Regions from separate parts of the Homo sapiens genome. Here regions 2 and 3 are each linked to region 1. The links are contacts of gene promoters, found by promoter capture Hi-C in blood cells and fetal thymus (Javierre and others, 2016). All regions are on one chromosome and are shown on one strand. Each heading gives the region's core, a stretch centred on a gene start or on the middle of the fragment in contact. The rest is flanking DNA. Distances are from core to core; before and after follow the strand shown. Region 1 holds the start of F2 (coagulation factor II, thrombin). Region 2 overlaps CSTPP1 (centriolar satellite-associated tubulin polyglutamylase complex regulator 1). Region 3 overlaps AMBRA1 (autophagy and beclin 1 regulator 1).

Evidence for each region. Contacts are between HindIII fragments. The CHiCAGO score rates a contact against its expected background, and 5 or more counts as called.
Region 2: a contact is called between a fragment that was not itself captured here and the fragment with the promoter of F2 in region 1, in 1 of 17 cell types (M1 macrophages). The highest score is 7.6, in M1 macrophages.
Region 3: a contact is called between a fragment that was not itself captured here and the fragment with the promoter of F2 in region 1, in 1 of 17 cell types (M1 macrophages). The highest score is 5.3, in M1 macrophages.

Annotation. Positions count from the first base shown.
Region 1 is chr11:46,716,831-46,721,019 of GRCh38, forward strand. It overlaps F2 (coagulation factor II, thrombin), which reads left to right and starts at 2,383. Exons shown (of 14, transcript NM_000506.5): 1 at 2,383-2,484; 2 at 2,872-3,032; 3 at 3,693-3,717; 4 at 3,960-4,010. The coding sequence starts at 2,406. The HindIII fragment of the contact is 4,700 bases long and covers 1-3,989 here.
Region 2 is chr11:47,141,377-47,145,565 of GRCh38, forward strand. All of the region lies in intron 4 of CSTPP1 (centriolar satellite-associated tubulin polyglutamylase complex regulator 1), which reads left to right. Among named protein-coding and RNA genes, the nearest start is that of ARFGAP2, 33 kb to the right of the region's middle. The HindIII fragment of the contact is 614 bases long and covers 1,729-2,342 here.
Region 3 is chr11:46,428,972-46,433,160 of GRCh38, forward strand. The region is part of intron 14 of AMBRA1 (autophagy and beclin 1 regulator 1); the gene reads right to left. It also overlaps the pseudogene RPS10P19. Among named protein-coding and RNA genes, the nearest start is that of MIR3160-2, 21 kb to the right of the region's middle. The HindIII fragment of the contact is 2,096 bases long and covers 883-2,978 here.

The DNA.
Region 1 (4,189 bases), core at 1,133-3,632:
GGGCCGAGGCAGGTGGATCACCTGAGGTCAGCAGTTCGAGACCAGCCTGACCAACATGGTGAAACCCCATCTCTACTAAAAATACAAAATTAGCTGGGCGTGGTAGTGCATGCTTGTAATCCCTAGCATGCACTTGGGAGCTACTTGGGAGGCTGAGGCAGGAGAATCACTTGTACTCAGGAGGCCGAGGTTGCAGTGAGCTGAGATCACGCCACTGCACTCCTTTCTGGGTGACAGAGTGAGACTCCATCTCAAAAAAACAAAACAAAACAAAACAAAAACAAACAAAAAAACCCAACAGGTAGGTAGCAGTGGTTCACGCCTGTAATCCCCACTTTGGGAGGCTAAAGTGGGCAGATCACCTGAGGTCAGGAGTTCACGTCCAGCCTGGGCAACATGGTGAAACTCTGTCTCTACAAAAATACAAAAATTAGCCAGGCATGATGGCGGGTGCCTGTAGTTCCAGCTATTCGGGAGGCTGAGGCAGGAGAATCGCTTGAACCTAGGAGGTAGAGGTTGCAGTGAGCCGAGTTCACGCTATTGCACTCCAGCCTCCATCTCAAAAACAAAACAACAAAAACCCAAAATATATATTATAATTTTATTTTATTTATTCAATTTTATTTTATTTTATTTTATTTTTCTAGGAACAGGTCTCATTCAGGCCAGGCATGGTGGCTCACGCCTGTAATCCCAGCACTTGGGAGGCCGAGGTGGAGGTGGGCGGATCACCTGAGGTCAGGAGTTCGAGACCATCCTGGTCAATGTGGCGAAACCCCATCTCTACTAAAAATACAAAAATTAGCCAGGTGTGGTGGCACACGCCTGTAATTCCAGCTACTTGGGATACTGAGTCAGGAGAATCACTTGAACAGGGAGATGGAAATTGCAGTGAGCCGAGATTGTTCCACTGCACTCCAGCCTGGGTGACAGGGCGAGACTCCGTCTCAAAAAAAAAAAAAAAAAAGAAAGAAAGAAAGAAAGAAAGAAACAGGATCTTACTCTGTTACCCAGGCTGGAGTACAGTGGTGCAATCATAGCTCACTGCAGCCTGGAACTCCTGGGCTCAAGTGATCCTCCTGCCTCAGCCTCCTCAGTAGCTCAGACTGCAGGCATGCACCACCATTCCCAGCTAATTTTTAATTTTTTTTTGGTAGAGATGAGGGTCTTGCTATGTTGCCCAGGCTGGTCTCAAACTCCTGGCCTCAAGCGATCCTGCCATGTCGGCCTCCCAAAGTGTTGGGATTACAAGTGTGAGCCACTATGCCTGGCCTAAAAATATATATATGAAAATATATAAGAAATGGGCCTCCCAGGAATTAAGGTGTTTGCGGGAGTCCTGGTCCCCAGTTTTTCTGCCAACACTCCCTGTTCCCACACATGACCTGGTCCAGACCCCAAACAGCCAGGCCCAAAGGACAGGTGAGGCGAGGCGAGAACTTGTGCCTCCCCGTGTTCCTGCTCTTTGTCCCTCTGTCCTACTTAGACTAATATTTGCCTTGGGTACTGCAAACAGGAAATGGGGGAGGGACAGGAGTAGGGCGGAGGGTAGGGTAGGACCAGAAGCCTCTCTAGGCCTGCCATGGGGCAGGCAGCCAGGGAGAAGGAGGGCCCCTCAGTGGAGACCCAGGGATTTCAGTAGCCCCTGTTCCGGGACAGGCGCAGGTCCTGGGAGGTGACAGAAGATAGACTAAAGGCCCAAGAGTCCCTGGACCTGACTCCTCCCAGGCAGCTGCCACACACAAACACACCTCCAGGCACCCTGGACAGGAAGGAGGAGAAATGGGCCCCTCCTCCAGTGGCTGAGAAGCTGGGGCAAATGTTGGCTGTTCCTATCCCTGGTGCATCCCATGGCGAGGGGCAACTTCCATCAGGCCACACCTTTTATCTTTGTCTCTATTTTTGATATCTGTGTATTATGATTATACAAACCCCCACATTGGCCTATATGTGCAGATCTGATTAAGAACTTACGATATTCCATGGACATTCCATTCCTAATCTCCTTTAGTCCTCACAACAAAGTATTATTCCCATTGTATAGATGAGGAAACTGAGGCACACAGAGATGACAAGCAACCACCGCTATATGTTAGGATTCGAAGGAGCTCCAGGAAAGTCTCATAGCCCCACTGGCCAGAATGGGCTAAATCTCAGAGGGGGAGGGTGGGAGATGGGGGTGACAGTGACCTTTTTTGTGACTCCTCCTAGACCATCCATCCCTGCTCCCAGGAGGACCTGTCCTCCCAGATGGTGGAGATGGACAGGAGGACTATCTACCCACCCGTCCCCACGGCCCTGACCCTCTGACCTCACCCTCTCCGCTGATTTCTTCATGTTAGTTCAACATTAACCCAGAGGGGTCAGGACAGACAATTCCTCAGTGACCCAGGAGCTGACACACTATGGCGCACGTCCGAGGCTTGCAGCTGCCTGGCTGCCTGGCCCTGGCTGCCCTGTGTAGCCTTGTGCACAGCCAGCATGGTAAGGGAGTGCTTGCAGGCTGGAACAGGCTGGAGGACTGGGGTGTGGGCCCATGGGCTGGGGTCTCCTGGCTGGACAGAGCACACAGAGCTGGCCCCTAAGTAGGTCTCAGCCCCAGGCGGCCAGCTTAGGGAAGAAGTCAGGAGCTCAGGGCTGGAAAGAGAATGGCTGCTTCTCTCTTCCAATATAGGGAGCAGGCTGGGGGCAAGGGGCAGTGTAGGAGGGGCACAGGGGGCCACATTTAGCAGCCTTCCAGGCACTTCCACCAGCCCAGACAGCCTCTCTCAGAAGCCAGCAGGGGAGGGTGGGCTTGCTTCATGCCCCCAGAATGGCCAAGACTGCCTGTTCCTGAGGCCGCTGTCCCATGACCCCCCCACCGCCTTACAGTGTTCCTGGCTCCTCAGCAAGCACGGTCGCTGCTCCAGCGGGTCCGGCGAGCCAACACCTTCTTGGAGGAGGTGCGCAAGGGCAACCTGGAGCGAGAGTGCGTGGAGGAGACGTGCAGCTACGAGGAGGCCTTCGAGGCTCTGGAGTCCTCCACGGCTACGGTGAGCCTGGGCTGCTCGGACGGTGCCGGGGCCTCAGACCGGGCCCAACTCTAGACACTTCCACAGAGAAGCAAGCGAGGAACGCCACAGCCCCTTCGCTGCTCACAGCCTCATTTCAACTCTGAGCCCCTCCTCACAGGGCTGGCAAGAGGAGCGGCCTCAGCCTTTCCTGGGGGTCTCTGTGCCTGGACTGTGTCCCTGTGCAGCTCCATGACATGGGGAGGCCTCCACAGTCTTCAGACATCCACCTGCCCTGGAGCTCTGTGTCCACATGGCCTCCTCAGCGGCAGACTCCCACACCACCCTTGAGGGGTGGGACTCTGGGGAGGCCACCACAAGCCCCCGGGCTCAAGACTCAGTGTTCCTGGAGCTCTGTGTCGCCTTTCCTGTCTGTAGGGCTCTGCCAGGGTCCCACTGCCCCCTCTCCTCCCATCTCCCCCAGCCTCTTTCAGTCTCGGTGTGTGTGTTGGAGGAACTCCCCTATCCTCAAATATTCTTCTCCTTTTGGAAACAAAAGTAGGAAACTCTGCCACAAACCTCCCCAGAGCCTGCCCCCTGCGTGACCAGGGTAAAGGAAAGTGTGAGGAGGAGACATAACATTTACTAAAACAACACAAAACAGGAGCTGCCGTAGCCTCACTCCCAGCCCTTGTTTTTCAGGATGTGTTCTGGGCCAAGTACACAGGTGAGCACCGGGAAGGATTTGCCCCAGGAAGGGAGGCCTGGGGACCCCAGTGAGAGAATTCTACCCAGAGAATCTTCTGCTGCACCTAGCCATCCACCCATCCACCCCTTCCCCACTCCTTCCTTGGTCCCTCCCATCTGTTCATCCATCTTTCTGTTTCTCACCAACATCCCATCCACCCTGACTCCAGCTCATCCTGGCCATACCCCAATCCCAAAGGTAAACACCTGGGTCTTTTCCAGCTTGTGAGACAGCGAGGACGCCTCGAGATAAGCTTGCTGCATGTCTGGAAGGTGAGCAACTGACACGGGTTTGGGGAGCAGGACATGGAGGGGAGCCTGGGAGAAGAGCTCAGGGGTGGGTTTGGAGTGTGGCTGGTGGAGGCCGAGGCAGTCCCCAGCATCTGACATTGCTCCCATTCCTGGGGTCAAGATGTCTCTTTGTACCTGGCTCTGTGTCTGGCATGCGAACG
Region 2 (4,189 bases), core at 786-3,285, 420 kb after region 1:
GTAATCCCAACACTTGGGGAGGCTAAGTGGGGAGGATTGCTCAACATGGTGAAACCCCATCTCTAACAAAAATACAAAAACTTAGCCAGGCGTGGTGGTGTGCGTCTGTGGTCCCAATTACTTGGGAGGCTGAGGTGGGAGAATTGCTTGAGCCTGGGGGGCAGAGGTTGTAGTAAGCTGAGATTGTGCCACTGCACTCCAGCCTGGGCAACTGAGTGAGACTCTGTCTTTAAAAAAAAAAAAAATCAAATAAGTAGAATTGTATATGTGGTCTTGGCCAGGCATAGTGGCTCACGCCTGTAATCCCAGCACTTTGGAAGGCTGAAGCAGGAGGATCATTTGAGGTCAGGAGTTCAAACCCAGCCTGGCCAACATGGTGAAACCTGTCTCTACTAAAAATACAAAACTTAGCTGGGCATGGTGGTGCACATCTATAATCCCAGCTACTCAGGAGGCTAAGGCAGGAGAATCACTTGAACCCGGGAGGTGGAGGTTGCAGTGAGCCGAGATCATGCTGCTGCACTCCAGCCTGGGCAACAGAGCTAGACTCTGTCTCAAAAAAAAAAAAAAAAAAAAAAAAAACCACGACCAGGTGCAGTGGCTTACGCCTGTAATCCCAGCAGTTTGGGAGGCCAAGGTGGGTGGATCACGAGGTCAAGAGATCGAGACCATCCTGGTCAACATGGTGAAACCCCATCTCTACTAAAAATACAAAAATTAGCTGGGCGTGGTGATGCACGCCAGTAGTCCCAGCTACTTGGGAGCCTGAGGCAGGAAAATCGCTTGAACCCAGGAGGCAGAGGTTGCAGTGAGCCGAGATCGCGCCACTGCACTCCAGGCTGGTGACAGAGTGAGACTCCATCTCAAAAAAAAAAAAAAAAGTGTTTTTTTTGTGACTAGTTTCATGTTTTAGGTTGGTGTAAAAGTAATTGTGGTTTTGCCATTATTTTCAATGGCAAAGACTGCAATTACTTTTGCACCAACCTAATAGCACAATGTTTTCATGGTTCATCCATCTTGCTGTATGTATCAGTACTTCATTTCGCCAAATGTTTCTTGAGTGCATATTTTGTGCCGGGAGCTATTCTGCAAATGGGGATACAGTCATGAATAAGATATAGTTCCTGCCCCTCAAAGAACTTGATATAGAAGGGGACTGCTTAGGTACTGGTCATTGGCTGCCACCACTCTGTGACGTATGACCTTGGTTTTGATCAATCACTCCAGAATACTGACCTCTTTTCCCTTTCCCATGATGTGAGGGAGCTTATGAGAGTGAGGCTTCAAAATGCATCTTAGCCCCCCGCAGCCACAGCTTTGCATTTGCCCCAGCTGTCTCCTCAGACCCTTCCAAACAATCTGATACATGAAAGCACCACAAGATTTGAGTGTAGGTGGTAGAATCCTGTAAGAACCAAAAATTCTCGATACCAAGGTAGAATTGTACAGTTATTGATACCAAGGGGCTTCTGGAATGGTATTCCTCTATTTGCGGCTGGAAACTTACCCACTCCTCACCTAGAGGCCTGCTGTTTGACAGACACCTCAGACCTTTCTGTCTGAGCAGGAGGAAGCATCGTAGCCAGTCCATATCAATAGCAGTCTGAGGGAATTATGGGAATGGCAGTAACAACAGAAGGGCCAAGGGTAACCCACATGGCACTGGCTGCAGTTAGAGATGAATTCAGAATTAGGATAAGTTTGTTTTCTCCCCGAGTATGAGCATCAAGCTTCTGTGTCAACTTCTCCTCCCAATGCCATGCTTTCCCCACTGTACTGCAGCTGGTGCATATGTAGAAAAATTGTATGTATCCCAGAAAGCATCCCCTGATTTTGTAAACTATTCTCATTTTGTCCTGAAGATCAGGGTCCCAGCTTCCCCACACACATACCTATGCATCTGATCAGAACTGCAAATGGAGGTGGTAGAGACTTCAAGGCAGTTACTATTGCTAGAAGAGGAACTGCCCTCTCCCATTTCACTGCCAGGCTTACTTTATTCAGGACACTGAAGTCTGGGGACAGGCTGCAGAAGCAGGCTCCAGTCTGTGATGATGTGTGCGTAAAAGAATGTAATCCACATGCAGCTGGAAGCCGGAGCCTGTTCAGGGGCATGGTGTCTCCACATGCGCCTGCCTTATGTGCTACAAGCATCATGGCCAGGCCCTGGGGCAGCAGGTGTGAGCTGGAAAAACAGGAAAAGAAAAAGCAAACAGACTCCATGACAGCAGCCAAGCCAGAGATCCCCTCCACCTCACATATTCCTGCAGCAACTGGAGTAGTTCTTTTATCCCCAGATGATCACCACAGCATCTCCCACTCCCCATCCTCCATGGACTGGAAGCTTTCTGGATGGTTAAGAGCATGCAGTTGGAACCAGACTTCTTGAGTTCAAATCCTGGTTCCACAATATACTAGCTGTGCCCTTGAGAAAGGTATTTAATTTGAGCCTGTTTCCTCACTTGTAAAATGGGAATAATAATAGTTGTAATGATTGAAGGAGAAGTATATGATGTGCTTAAAATGGTGGCTGGCACAGAGTAAACTTGTCATAATCGTTAGAAATGGTAATATTAACCTTGACCTAGAAGAACACAGGCCCCATGGCATTAGAAAGATCTACTGTACATCCCACCTGTGCCCCATTAACTGGATGACCTTGAGGATATCTCTTAACTTCTCTGAGCCCTGTTTTTATATCTGTAAAATGGGGATGATAATAATAATAGTAACTAACTCATAGGGTGTTTGTAAGATTTCAGTAACACCAACAAAACCATGAACACTGCTTACCACATTGTAGACATTAAATCAGTAATAATTTTTTTTTTAGATGAAGTCTTGCTCTGTTGCCCAGGCTGGAGTGCAGTGGCGTGATCTTAGCTCGCTGCAACCTCCGCCTCCTGGGTTCAAGTGATTCTTGTGCCTCAGCCTCCCAAGTAGCTAGGATTATAGATGCCCGCCACCACGCCTTGCTAATTTTTTGTATTTGTAGTAGAGACGGGGTTTCACCATGTTGGCCAGGCTGGTCTCGAACTCCTGACCTCAAGCGATCTGCCTACCTCAGCCTCCCAAAATACTGGGATTACAGGCATGAGCCACCACGCCTGGCCAGTAGTAATTTCTTGCTGTTACAATTATGTTGGTATTATTAATAGTACCAGATTAAAAGAAAAATGAGATGTTCCTGGGTTTCCAAAGGCAATGCTTCCTGGCCTTTTTGCACTTCACAGCAATCAGAAAATAATATATAACAAAAATCTCCAGTAAAGACAAGACTTCTTGTGATTGGCCTGCAGGCTCTGGCCTCCTCCCAGCTGGGCCAAGGGGACCATCACATCTGTAAGTCATTTGAGGCCGAAGTGACAAAGGGTTGGGAAGCTCTGCTCCAAGGGTGAAGATTTAAAGCACTGGTTCTCAAACTTGAGCATGCATCAGAGTCACCTGCAGGGCTTGTTAAACCACACATGGCCGGACCACATCCCCAGAGTTCAGTAGGTTTAGGGCGGGGCTCAATAATTTATATTTCTAAAAAATTCCCAGGTGATACTGATGGTCTGGGAAACACACGTTGAGAACCACTGATTTAAAGTATTGCCTGCCATTTTTTTTTTTTTTTTTTTTTTTTTTGAGATAGAGTCTTGCTCTGTCACCAGGCTGGAGTGCAGTGGCATGATCTGAGCTCACTGCAACCTCCGCCTCCCAGGTTCAAGCGATTCTCTCGCCTCAGCCTCCCAAGTAGCTAGGACTACAGGCACGCACCACCATGCCTGGCTAATTTTTGTATTCTTAGTAGAGACTGGGTTTCACACTGTTGGCCAGGATGGTCCCAATCTCTTGACCTTATGATCTGCCTGCCTCGGCCTCCCAAAATGCTGGCATTACAGGCGTGGGCCACCGCACCCGGCTGTATTGCCTGCATTCTTATTCTGGCTGGGCATGGTGGCACACGCCTGTAATCCCAGCACTTTGGGAGGCAAAGGCAGGTGGATCACTTGAGGTCAGGAGTTCGAGACCAGCCTGGCCAACATGGTGAAACCCCGTCTCTACTAAAAAGAAACCCCATCTCTACTAAATACAAAAATTAGTCGGGTGGGGTGGCACGCACCTATGGAATCCCAGCTACTCAGGAGGCTGAGGCAGGAGAACTGCTTGAACCCGGGAGGCAGAGGTTGCAGTGAGCTGAGAT
Region 3 (4,189 bases), core at 681-3,180, 290 kb before region 1:
TCCTTCACGTAGCCTCGGGACTTGAGAGACTGCATGGCCTTCATGACATGAAGGTTGGGCACATTCTTGTCTGCCAGCTCCGGGTGCTTAGGCATGTGGACATCCTTCTTGGCCACCATGACTCCCTCCTTAAAAAGGAGTTCATAAATGGCAATCCGGTTCTTCTTAGGCATCAACATCTGGCAGGTCTCCGCCACGCACTGGCTTCATCCTCCCCCTCTCCCTCGGACAATCTTCGCCTACCAGCGGCCCCCTACCCCATAAAATAAGCCTCCAGCCCCTATCGCTACTCAGAAATCGGTGTGTGGGGAGTGGGAGAGAGGCCCCCTGCCCGCATCCTGGGGAGGAGCAGCCGCTAAGGTGGCAGGATAGCCCGGATGGGAGCCGATGGAACTCGAACTCCACAGAAAAACCTTTTCCACTTCTTACTAAACCACTTATGTGCCTACAATCCCCACTTATTGGGAGGTGGGGGGGTGGTCCATGTTAATTCCAGTGTTGAAAGCACTAATCCTTATTCTTGCTTTCTAGCTCAAAATGCCCTAGCTTCGTCCTCATGTCCCTGAACCTCCCTGCCCAGTTGCAGGCTTCTGCCCCTATTCCTAAGTAACACAGCACTTACTGAGATACAAACTAAAGGAAGAATGTGGTATATGACTCTTTCTGGTTTCATCAGTAATTTTGTATTTTTGTTATTATGCTTTCACTTGGTTACAACCAAAGTTATTATACTGTGCAAGTTGCCACTATTTTAGAAAATTAATTGCAGTTCTCTGTTACAATACTGTGCCTGGTTCCAATTAGAAAATGAAAGCCGAGAGGGAACACAGGCAGTTTAGTGTTTTGAGAATTCAGCAAAACTTCAGCTCAGCAGTCTCTAAAAGCTTAACCTAAAAACAAAACAAAAATTAACAAAAAGCCCTCTCTGGCTCAAGCAGAAGGGAATCAGACAGAAAATAAGATTCTGAGTCATAGAGAGTAGCATATCCAGTCTGGAGGAATCGCAAATGGACAGTGGGAAGGGAGAGAGAAAATATGTGCCCAGTCTTACTTTCCTGACTTACCCATCATTAAAACTGGGAGGACTAGCACGATAAACAGAGAAGGGAAAGATCAAAAGGACCCTAGATCCTAGAAATAAGGACAAAAATTAAAATGATTCAACATAAAGAAAAGACTCCAGCACATACAGCTATTCAAGGGAGAAACCTGGAAAGCAGCAACAGCCTAGAAAAGATGGGAGGTGAGGCGCAGACAGCCAAAAAAGCTGAGTTTGGTAGGAAACAGAAGACAAACACCACTGTGCCTGCAACATAATTAGCAAAGAATCAAAGCACCATGCACAAAACCACAATGGCAAGTAGACCTGAGACTGACTCTGCCTTGCTGAGGAGGCTGAGGGCAGACACCTAAAATGAAGAAATCTTGTTTTAAAAATACTAATCCTGGGTCCCTCTGACTCCCATTCTTATTCTGATTTTAGGTCTGAAATGGATCTGTATTTTAATAAGGACCCATGTAGTTCTACTGTAAGTTGTCCAAGAACCACAGTTTGAGAAGCACTGATCCAGAAGTCTGAAGAACTGCTTAGAGTAAGTGCATCAAGGCTAATAGCAATTAGCAATTCATTTTCAGAAGAGTTTTCATATGGGATTGTGTCAGAGATCATCTCTTGGGGAGAGATGTCACTTAGTGCCATCTTAAAATAAATCAATGCTCTGGAGGATGTTCTCCTGGGAATGTCTGTTGGCCCAACACATTTGCCTCTCTGAACATTACCACAGTGAATTCCAAGAGGTAACACCAGACAGAAGGGGAATTCTGGGTAGCAAAGCTCTAGGACAGGCCCATTACCCACTAAAGCATTCCTTTATGGTCAGAGCTTGACATTAGAGATGGAGACACCCACCTATACTTACCTGTGCAAAGAGGGAGATGCTGTACTGTCCCATTAAACCCTTGCTCCCTGTTCTCAGACAAAAATTCACTTCTTGCCTTAAACGGTGATACAGCACAGCTATCCAAAAAAGCTGGTGTCTTCCCTTCCACCAATCACTGAATTCAGGGACATTTGCTGAGTGATCTGGTGCCTTTGGACGTAAGGGGCAACCAAGACCTGGAAAACCAGAAACCTTTCTGTAGCATGGGGGTTTAAAGTCAGACTGGGTGGACACTTGGTTGACCTAAACCTTGTTGAGATGCCTTGATCCTGTCTCTTGGGTGACAGGAACACTTCCCAAATGGGAACTTTCTAGGTACTTCAGCTCCCTTTCTTAGTGCTTGGTGGCAGATGGTACCTACTGAGAATCAAAAAAGGTTCACCAGGCAGCCTGGCAGTAGTAGTAGCTCCAGTCACCAAGCATGCAGCTGCTGGCTAGCTGCCTTGAGACCCTTGGCAGGACAGCCAGGGGCTGACTGGATTACCACATCTCCTCAGCAGAGAACCACATTCCTTGAGCTGCCAGCCCCATATGTGACAACAGATCCCATCACCTTGGCTTCTGCTTTGTAACTGTTTGTCTTCAGCCAGATGTTTCTGGCTACTATGGAAAAGTGGAACTGTGCTAAGATGGAGAACTGGCAGGCTGTGTGCAGGAGCTGGGCAAGAGCCCTGGCTTATGAAAGAAGCTAGAGAGGTCTGTCAGAGCTACCAACATCAGATTCTGTCTCTTAATGATTTAAACGATTATTCCACAATTAGGCCGGAAGGGTTAGAAGAGCAGCTGTTGGGACTGGGATTCCAGGTGGTGAAAAGCAGAGACCAGCTTCTGCTTAAGAGAAGCAAAAGAAGAATATTTAAATGAAAACTCAACTTCCATCCTCAAATATCTAGATAAGAAAATAGACTTGATGAACATCCCACAATGACATCTCCTATTCACCCAATGTCAAATATTTCCAGCCATATGGAATTCAAGATCAGAACTTTCTTGTCATTGTGATATCAAGAGGACAGAATGACTTGTTTTCCTTTCAGAAGCTTGGTGGGACATGATGTTATGTTACCCATCATTGGTTCTGCTAGTTACCACCTAGAAATGATAAAGAGGATGCTTTATTTTTATTTATTTATTTTTTTTTGAGATTCTCTTTCATTCATTCATTCACTTTCTACTAAGTGTCAGGTTCCGCATGAAGTTCTTGGACTTCATAAAGATAAAACAGACACAGTCTCTATTCTCAAGGAGCTCACAGCCCAGGAGAAGAGAGTGACATGGAAACAAATAACTGCAGTTTGGTGTGACAAGTACTGACATGAGAATGTGTAAGAGGTACAATGATAGCACAAGGAACGAGTGATCAATTCTATTAAGATGGATGCCACAGAAAGTAAAAAGCTTGCAGGTAGCTGGAGATAGGGGACAGGAGGGCATTCCAAGTAAAGGTACCCTGGCAAGAAGGCACTTTGACAAATTCAAGAAGCTTGAAAAGTGGCTCAGTGTAGTTGGACAGAGGATATCTGTAGGAGACAGGAGGGAGAAGAGGCTGGAGAGGAAAGGACCACACCAGGCCACCCACTTTCTATCACTTTGTATATAATGGGTGCTATCTCTAGTTTTTTTATTTAAAACAAATGCTTCCCATTCCAGATATTCAACAGCCATCTACATGCACAGCACTAAATGAGGGACCTGAGGGATATCCCTCTAAGGAGCTTACACTGAACCGAATTGGGTGGATTAAACACATACGCTACACAGCTAAAGAAGACAAAAAATGGACCAACAAGTACATCCAACTATAAATGGTACAGATTGCACAAAGTACTAAGGAAATTCACAGGTTCTTGGATTCTGACAAAGCTTGAATACTATCTAATTAGAGAACTGTTCAAATGCTTGAATCCCCTTGACAAAACCCTGGCTAAATGAGCACCTATGGGACGTGGGACGTTCACTCAGGCACGTTAGTCTGGCTGAGGCCAAAAGGCCACGAACCACAGGATGCCCAGAAGGCTTTTATGGCAATATAAGAGAGACGTGCCTTAGACAAGACAGGGTCCTAGACAGGACCTTTTCTCCACTGGTGAAATGAATGGGATGATTAAGAATACAGCAACTGCCTAAAGTCTTCATCTTCCATCATAATTATAACCCACAGAAAAAAAACATTTCATGGCATACTATTACTTTTTACAGCTTGTTCCCTCACACACACACACAAAAAGCTTTAAAAATAAGCATTTCAT